Linked DNA regions of Homo sapiens: regions 2 and 3 are each linked to region 1. Evidence: promoter capture Hi-C in 16 types of primary human blood cells and fetal thymus (Javierre and others, 2016). All regions are on one chromosome and are shown on one strand. Each heading gives the region's core, a stretch centred on a gene start or on the middle of the fragment in contact. The rest is flanking DNA. Distances are from core to core; before and after follow the strand shown. Region 1 holds the start of FAM241A (family with sequence similarity 241 member A). Region 2 overlaps SEC24B-AS1 (SEC24B antisense RNA 1). Region 3 has its middle 9.2 kb from the start of MCUB.

Region 1 (2,627 bases), core at 49-2,548:
TTTTCTGTATTTTACCTGTACAATAACCCATCGTTTTCCCAATGTACAGATAAGGCATACACAGAAAAAAAAGTGATATTTTATTTAAACACCCTTCCATTTTCCTTGAATAAAATGGATGGAGTAGTACAAAAAATAATTATCAATTGGATATATTCCCCTCACCACCCACTGAGAAAGACATATTCTTACCCAGTTACAGAAAGATACATCATTTGATACACCATCAAACGACCCAAGGCTCCAACAAACAACACACACTAGGAAGCACTCAACAGAAAGGGACAAATACACAGACCTTCAGTGAGACACTAGGAAAGGAGGCTAAAGGAACAAGAGGGACAGTGAAATGTGTCTTCCTTGAAAAGGACGGGCAGATACTCAGGCAAGAACAGGGGTACTCTGCTGGAGAGTGTAACTGGGTGCATGTGTGTGTTTCTCTCTCACATACAAACCCACACACACTAATCTCTTATACAAATGCGCTCTCTCTTAAATATATGCACTGGCTCTCTCACACAAGTAATTTCTCTTTCACACTTGATCTCTCTCAGTTTCTGTTGTTCCCTCATACAATCTCTCTCTCACAGTCTCTTGCATACACATACAATCTCAATCTCTCTCTCTCTCTCTCTCTCTCTCTCTTTCCCCCCCCCCTCCTCTCTCTCTCTCTCTCTCTCTCTGAAACGGGGTCTGGTTCTGTCGCCCACGCTGGAGTGCAGTGGTGTGATCTCTGCTCACTGCAGCCTCGACTTCCCGCGCTGAGACGATCCTCCCACCTCAGCCTCCTGAGTAGCTGGGACCACACTGCCGCCACCACGCCCGCCTAATTCTATTTTTAGTAGAGATGGGGTTGCCCAGGCTGGTCTCCAACTCCTGGGCTCAAGCTATCTGCCCGCCTCGGCCTCCCAAAGTGCATACAATCTCTTATACGCAGTTTCTTTTATATAGAATCTCTCTCACACACACACACAAATCACGCTCAGCGTCTCTCTCACACTCTCTAACGGTCTCTTACGCACACACAATATCCCTCATACATACACACAGCCTCTCTCATGTACAATCTCCCTCATGCAGTGTATGTCCATAGTTTTTCACACAACACCCTTCTTCTCTCAGTCTGTCGGCCTCTCTCTCAATCTCACACACACACCCCCGCCCCCCAACACACCGTTGGCCCCGCCCCCTGTCTTGGCCCCTCCCCTGTACGGCTCCGCCCCGACGGCCGGGGGTTGGGCGAGCCAGTGACAGGAGGGGCCGGGCTGGTACTTCAGGCGCCCAGGCCGGCGGGGCGCGCTCCGGCGGCTCCTGTCAGCGGCGGGTGCGGCGGATCCCAGGGCAGCCTTCGGGCGGCGGCGCTGCCTGGTGCGTCGCGGCGTGGTCCTCCGGCGGCTGTCCGGGGCGGTAGGAGTTGGCTGCGGGATGTGCTCAGCCGGGGAGCTGCTGCGGGGCGGCGACGGCGGGGAACGCGACGAGGACGGGGACGCGCTGGCGGAGCGGGAGGCGGCAGGGACCGGGTGGGATCCCGGGGCGAGCCCGCGGCGGCGCGGACAGCGGCCGAAGGAGAGCGAGCAGGTGAGCGCGGGGAGGGGCGGCGGCGAAGCGGCCGGGTCGGGGGCCGCGAGCCCCGCCCGGCGTTGGAGGGAAGGGGCCCGGCCCGCGGGCCGCGCCGCAGCTCTGCCCCGCGTGGGCACTGGCTCCCCGGCGCTCTGGGAAGTCGTCGCCGGGAGCGGTTAGACGGCGCTCCCAGGAGGAGCGGCGGGGTCGCGCGAGTGCAGACGCCAGCGCCGGCCCCGGGGTCGCGTGTCTGGCGGGGTCAGCGTGGTTCGTCCCCTGGCGTCCGGCAGAGGATTCTCAGGCTGGCGCCCAGGGCTCGGAGGAAATGCCCTCCATAGCGGTGATTTATTTAAAAGCCTCACTTGTAAACACTTCTTTTTCAACTTCGAGTCCGTGCCCTGCGCCAGGTTTAGGAGACGCCGGCTCCCCTCCCGCCCTCCATCTTGCGTTTCCGAGCCCACACCTAGCGTGTCTGGAAGGTGTGGGTGGATTCCGTCCACGGGCAGCGCTGAAAGCATGAGTAGGAGCGGGTGTTACAATGAATGTCTTGACAGGGACTCTCCCAGAGCACGTTCTTCATAAATACAGATGAGATCAAAGCTTCAGTTAAAAAGTGGAGAGGCAAGAATATTGCTTTCGGTTATAAGAGGCCAGCCATAGTAAGGGAAAAGAGAAGTTGCGTAATTTTTTAAACTCTCTGAGTTTATCTCATTTAAATAAAGTGTGATAATGGGCATTATAACATCAAATATCTTAAAGATTAGGCAAAAGGTTTAATTTTAAAAATTGAATTGTATGTTGGATGAATTTTCTACAGCAAATACAGTATTTAGACTTTCCAAATACCTGAGGTAAGCCGCTCTTTAGACTCACATTAAGGAGCAGGAATTCAAATGATTATTGGCCTTTATTACAGCCTGTACTGTTAGGACAATTAATACCTGTCTCTCCTCATCTTTCTTCATCTGTCCTTTCTGTCACGTTTCACAAATTCCAGTATCATCACTAAATGCATTAATAGATGTATACCTTACATTGTTTCAATAGGTTACTTAGGAAACAGAGTA
Region 2 (2,627 bases), core at 128-2,627, 2.7 Mb before region 1:
CATCAACACTATACCTCAGAGAATCTGAGTTGACATAGGAAACATCATAATTGGCATTTGTGACACTGTAATCACAAATCTACAAAATATCACTTTTATTGGTCTGTAAAAGATTGAAGAGATGTCCTGAAAGAAAGGACCATCATCTTCCAAAGTAAGAGAATGAACCAATTCAGCTTAACTCTGCTATTCAAAAGCAGTGGTCCTCAAACTTCCCCATGCATCAGAATTGCCTGGAGAGCTTGCTGTAGGGCCCTATCTCCACCACTTCTGAATCAGTATACGGTCCAGGGTTTGGGCCCACAAATCTGCATTTCAAAAACTCTGAGATCTACCATTGTAGAGTACACTGGAACAAATTCTAAATATGAAAAACTGAAAATCTTTTGACAGCAAGACAGTAAATCATAACTAGCATAGCTTTATGAAGAAAAATGTAAATTAACCCAGTATAGTTTATAGTAAAGCAATGGTCTGGAGCTAAATAATCCTTGGTTTGACCGCTGGTTCTGCTAATTCCAGGTTCATGATTTTTACTAAGATTACTTCAGCTCTATAAACATTAGTTTCTTCACAGATAAAATAGGGATAAGAAAAATATCCCATGGAGTTATTGTTAGGATTAAATAGAAAAAAATACATATCTAGATTTACAAGCACAGTGCCTAGTAGATGGTTCAATCCTATTCATTCAATTCTTCATCCTTTTTTCACTTATAGTAGTAATGGAAATTAAAGCAAAAGAGTGAAATATTTTCATAAAGGTTGTAGTGTTTGTCAGGAGGAAAAATATCTACCTTCTAGAAGGGGTGCCACGGCAGCGACAGCACAAGGCCCGTGCGTCTGGGGTTCCTGTAACAAAAGAAAGGCATATGAATGTATGATATTTAATGTAAGTTTTACATGGCACCAGAGCCTTCATAAGGAAACGAAGACCTGAAGAAACCTGAGCGTTTTATACCAAGCTTGATGAAGAGTAGACTGTTATGGAAAACTGTGATAAGACAAAAAGATGGGCTAAGGGCAGTAAACTGGGGGAAACCTACCAAGGCCTATTCATTTAGATTCCTCTTGGCGTCTCTCTGTCTTCACAAATAAGACTGCTTCTTTTCTCCAGGTATAGAGAGGGCATCTCTCACATGAGGGTCTTATGACCTGCTTCATGGGAAGGTCAGAGTCCTCACACCTGCCATTTCTCAAATTCCATCAGCTTAAAACATTCAATATGCCAAGGTGTTATATTTTGGGGTAGTGTGCCCTGAACACCATCATAAACATGCTAGAAAAATTCTACAGCAAATTAGTGGACAAGGGGAAGGAGCTTAGGTATTAAAGATTGTGGAGAAGATCTATTAAAACACAGGGCCCCAATCCTCCTCTTAAGGAGTCTCCCCTTAAGAGACAGGGTTCACTTTCATCCCATATACTTCTGATTAAAAGGAGCCTCTTATACCCAGGAGAATACATTCCAGGTGCAGAAAGCCAATTACCTAGTTATTCCCTTACCCACGTAATTATAGACCTTAATCCAAATTCAAAGGACTCCTGGGAGATGCTGGAATCTGTAATTGTGTAATCTCTTTGATGAAGCACAGAGTGTGATCTTTTGCTCATGTGGGGCTAGGTTTCTGTGGAGAAGCTGGAAATGCTGTGGAAAAGGGCTTGCCCCTTTTGTGTATATGAACTCTAATGTAGTTGAAATTCCTAGAAGTCAAAGATATAAATCTAACTACTAAAATTCATTTAGTGCATTAAAATGCCAGTTATTAATTTACGGCAACAACTAAAGGGAAGCTTTGTATTATTCTAGGACTACAATGCAATTTATGCTTTGCATAATCATTCAGTAAATGACTTATTGCTCCAGAAATACCATCTTGCTAGATCCCATTCTGAATTCAGTGTTTCTGAGCAATCTCATCTCCAATACAGAGTGATGACATACTCAGGATTCCAAGACGGCAAAATGACTTGGGTAATGTAGTCTAGGGCCTGCCAGTGAGTATGCTGAGACAGACCAGAAAGACTTAAAGATTCCACTAATGTAGACAAAGCAAGCTGAGCCACAACTTCTCGGAACACCAACAGGATGCACCAACAATCGACAAAAAAAAAAAAAAAAAAGGAGATAAAGTTTAAAGTTTGTCTTCCAGCATTCCCTTACCCTATTTTCCCCTTCCTCTTCCCTACTTTATCAGTGGGAAAAGTTCTCAATAATGCAATTCTTACTGAGATTCTTGTGTTTATCAGAGAAATGTTTCCTCTTTCTTTGCCAAGGAATTATATATTCCCAACAGACATGGCGCTTGAATGCTATATTTCCTTTGGAATCAAGAAAGGGGAGGTGGGGGAATCAAAAATTAAAAACCAAACCCAAGCCATTGTTCCTCTTCGAGGAAGGGTGGGTGGTCAGTCGTCGCCTGAGCTCCGAACATCAACCCGCGGCTCTCAAGTTCCCCTCCCAGTAATGCTGGGCCCAGCCTCGCCGCGGCCGATCCAGCCTCTGCCCTAGGTGGAAGCGGGCCACCCGGTCCCTTCACCCACTGAGGCCCAGTCCTTTCGCCTCAACACGAAGGCACCTGGCCGGGCCGGAGCAGCAGCCGCGGGGCCGGCACTGGGGCCACGGA
Region 3 (2,627 bases), core at 96-2,595, 2.6 Mb before region 1:
TTCCTTGGTAAGAGTTTTGTGAGAATTATATGGAACGAGTATGTAAAGTTTCTTGTGCAGCACCTTACTTGTAGTAAATACTTGATAAATGGCAGTCAATGTCTTAACAAAATAACAGCACAACAGTAATAATAGTAATAATACTCCCACATTGAGCCTGCCCTTTGCCCTCCTATCACTTTCCACCTTCACTGCAATTATTCCACACTGGACATGGAAAACCAAAATATTATCATGTGGGCTGCTGCTACCTCCACTTTTACTGTGATCGATGTATTAACTACACTTTTTTGCTTCAGACCATCCAGTACAGATGGGTATACAGAAAGAAGCAAGTAGTCTTAGTTCATTACATGTACATAACATCAGACTTCAAAACTCGATGCTCACCAGTAAGTCACAATTGTGGGTTTTTTTTTGTTTGTTTGTTTTTGCTATCAGGTTTATTCCAAAAAGACTTTCTCAGGCTTTTGACCTATCTCTTTATTACAATAGTGGTTATGACCTCTTAAGCCTCTGAGCCTGTAAACATGCTGTTCCTCCTGCTAAGAACTCATCTTTACTTTTTTATCTGGTTAGCTGCTCTTCCTCCTTCAGTTATTAGTGTGTACTGATGCCAGCCTGTCCCTTACCACTAGCTTAGGTGGGGTCTCCCTGCTGTATGTTCACATAGCCCTTGTAGTTTTACTCTTATAACCTTTATGTCACTCTACTTAATTACTTGTTCACTAGGTGAACAAGCTTCCCCACTAGGTTCTGTGTAAGGAAGAACACAGAACTCATCTTTAAAAAAAAAAGTTCTTAAGTGTCAATTTTTTAAATTTTTTTTTATTTCAATAGTTTTGTGGGGTACAGGTGGTTTTGGTTACATGGATAAGTCCTTCAGTGGTGATTTCTGTGATTTTGATGCACCCATCACCATTACCCAAGCAGTATACACTGTACCTAATATGTAGTCTTTCTTTCTTTTTTTTTTTTTTTTTGAGTTGGAGTCTTGCTCTGTCACCCAGGCTGGAGTGCAGTGGCCAATCTTGGCTCACTGCAACCTCTGCCTCCCAGATTCAAGCGATTCTCATGCCTCAGCCACCCGAGTAACTGCGACTACAGGCACACACGACCATGCCCGGCTAATTTTTGTATTTTTAGTAGAGATGGAGTTTTGCCATTTTGGCCAGGCTAGTCTTGAACTCCTGGCCTCAAGCGATCCATCCGCCCCGGCCTCCCAAAGTGCTGGGACTACAGGCATGAGCCACCGTGCCTGACCCCACTATGTAGTCTTTTATCCCTCACCCCCACCCAACCTTCCCCACACCTGAATCCCCAAAGTACATTATATCATTCTTACATCTTTGCATCCTCATAGCTTAGCCCCTGCTTATAAGCGAGAACATACTATATTTGGTTTTCCATTCTGGAGTTATTTCACTTAGAATAATGGCCCCCAGCTCCATCTAAGTTGCTACAAAGGACATTATTTTGTTTTTTATGGCTGAGTAGTATTTCATGGTGTGTGTATATATATATACACACCACATTTTCTTTATTTACTTGGGTGATGGGCATTCAGGTTTGTTCCATATTTTTGCAGTTGCAAATTGTGCTTCTGTAAACGTGTGTGCACGTGTCTTTTTCATATAATGAATTCTTTTCCTTCGAGTAGATACACAGTAGTGGGATTGGGATTGCTGGATTGAATGGTAGATCTACTTTTAATTCTTTAAGGAATCTTCATATTGTTTTCCATAGTGGTTGGACTAGTTTACATTAGCACCAGCAGTATAAAAGTGTTTTCTTTTCACCACATCTACACCAACATCTATTGTTTTTTCACTTCTTAATTATGGCTATTCTTGCAGGAGTAAGTTGGTATCTCATTGTGGTTTTAATTTGCATTTCCCTGATAATTAGTGATGTTGAGCATTTTTTGATATGTTTGTGGGCTGTTTGTATAAGCTTTTGAGAATTGTCTATTCACATCCTTTGCCCACTTTTTGATGGGATTATTTGTGTTTTTCTTGCTGATTTGTTTGAGTTCTTTGTAGATTCTGGATATTAGTCCTTTGACAAATACATAGTTTGTGAATATAGAAACTCATCGTTTTTATTCATCACTCTACCATCAGCCTAGAACAGTGTCTGGCAAATCCTCATGTACTACTAACCACAAGTTTGTGTGTTTCTATTATTTTTAAAAGTGGCTGTAGTTTTTTGGGGTTTGTTTTTTTGTTTGTTTGTTTTTTTTGAGACAGATTCTTGCTCTGTCACCCAGGCTGGAGTGCAATGGAGTGATCTCGGCTCACTGCAACCTCTGCCTCCCAGGTTCAAGAGATTCTCCTGTCTCAGCCTCCCGAGTAGCTGGGATTACAGGTGCACACCACCATGCCTGGCTAATTTTTTGTATTTTAGTATAGATGGGGTTTCACCATGTTGCCCAGGCTGGTCTCAAACTCCTGAGCTCAGGCAATCCACCCACCTCGGTCTCCCAAAGTGCTAGGATTATAGGCGTGAGCCACTGTGCCCAGCCTAAGGGCGGTTGTAGTTTTAAAGTCCTGTTTTATTATTGATCTATTAAATTTATTCAGCAGATATTTGAGAACCTACTACTTAGGTGCTGGTGATAGAGCAGT

What was found. Contacts are between HindIII fragments. The CHiCAGO score rates a contact against its expected background, and 5 or more counts as called.
Region 2: a fragment that was not itself captured here is called in contact with the fragment with the promoter of FAM241A in region 1 in 3 of 17 cell types (naive CD8 T cells, naive B cells and total B cells); the score reaches 8.4 in naive CD8 T cells.
Region 3: a contact is called between a fragment that was not itself captured here and the fragment with the promoter of FAM241A in region 1, in 1 of 17 cell types (M0 macrophages). The highest score is 5.3, in M0 macrophages.

Annotation. Positions count from the first base shown.
Region 1 is chr4:112,144,156-112,146,782 of GRCh38, forward strand. It overlaps FAM241A (family with sequence similarity 241 member A), which reads left to right and starts at 1,299. Exons shown (of 2, transcript NM_152400.3): 1 at 1,299-1,578. The coding sequence starts at 1,426. RefSeq lists a silencer at 1,080-1,729 and an enhancer at 2,070-2,209. The HindIII fragment of the contact is 3,530 bases long and covers 1-2,158 here.
Region 2 is chr4:109,430,895-109,433,521 of GRCh38, forward strand. It overlaps SEC24B-AS1 (SEC24B antisense RNA 1), which reads right to left. Exons shown (of 3, transcript NR_039978.1): 2 at 798-852. Among named protein-coding and RNA genes, the nearest start is that of SEC24B, 1.6 kb to the right of the region's middle. RefSeq lists a silencer at 2,551-2,627. The HindIII fragment of the contact is 829 bases long and covers 964-1,792 here.
Region 3 is chr4:109,549,721-109,552,347 of GRCh38, forward strand. No RefSeq gene overlaps it. Among named protein-coding and RNA genes, the nearest start is that of MCUB, 9.2 kb to the right of the region's middle. The HindIII fragment of the contact is 1,212 bases long and covers 740-1,951 here.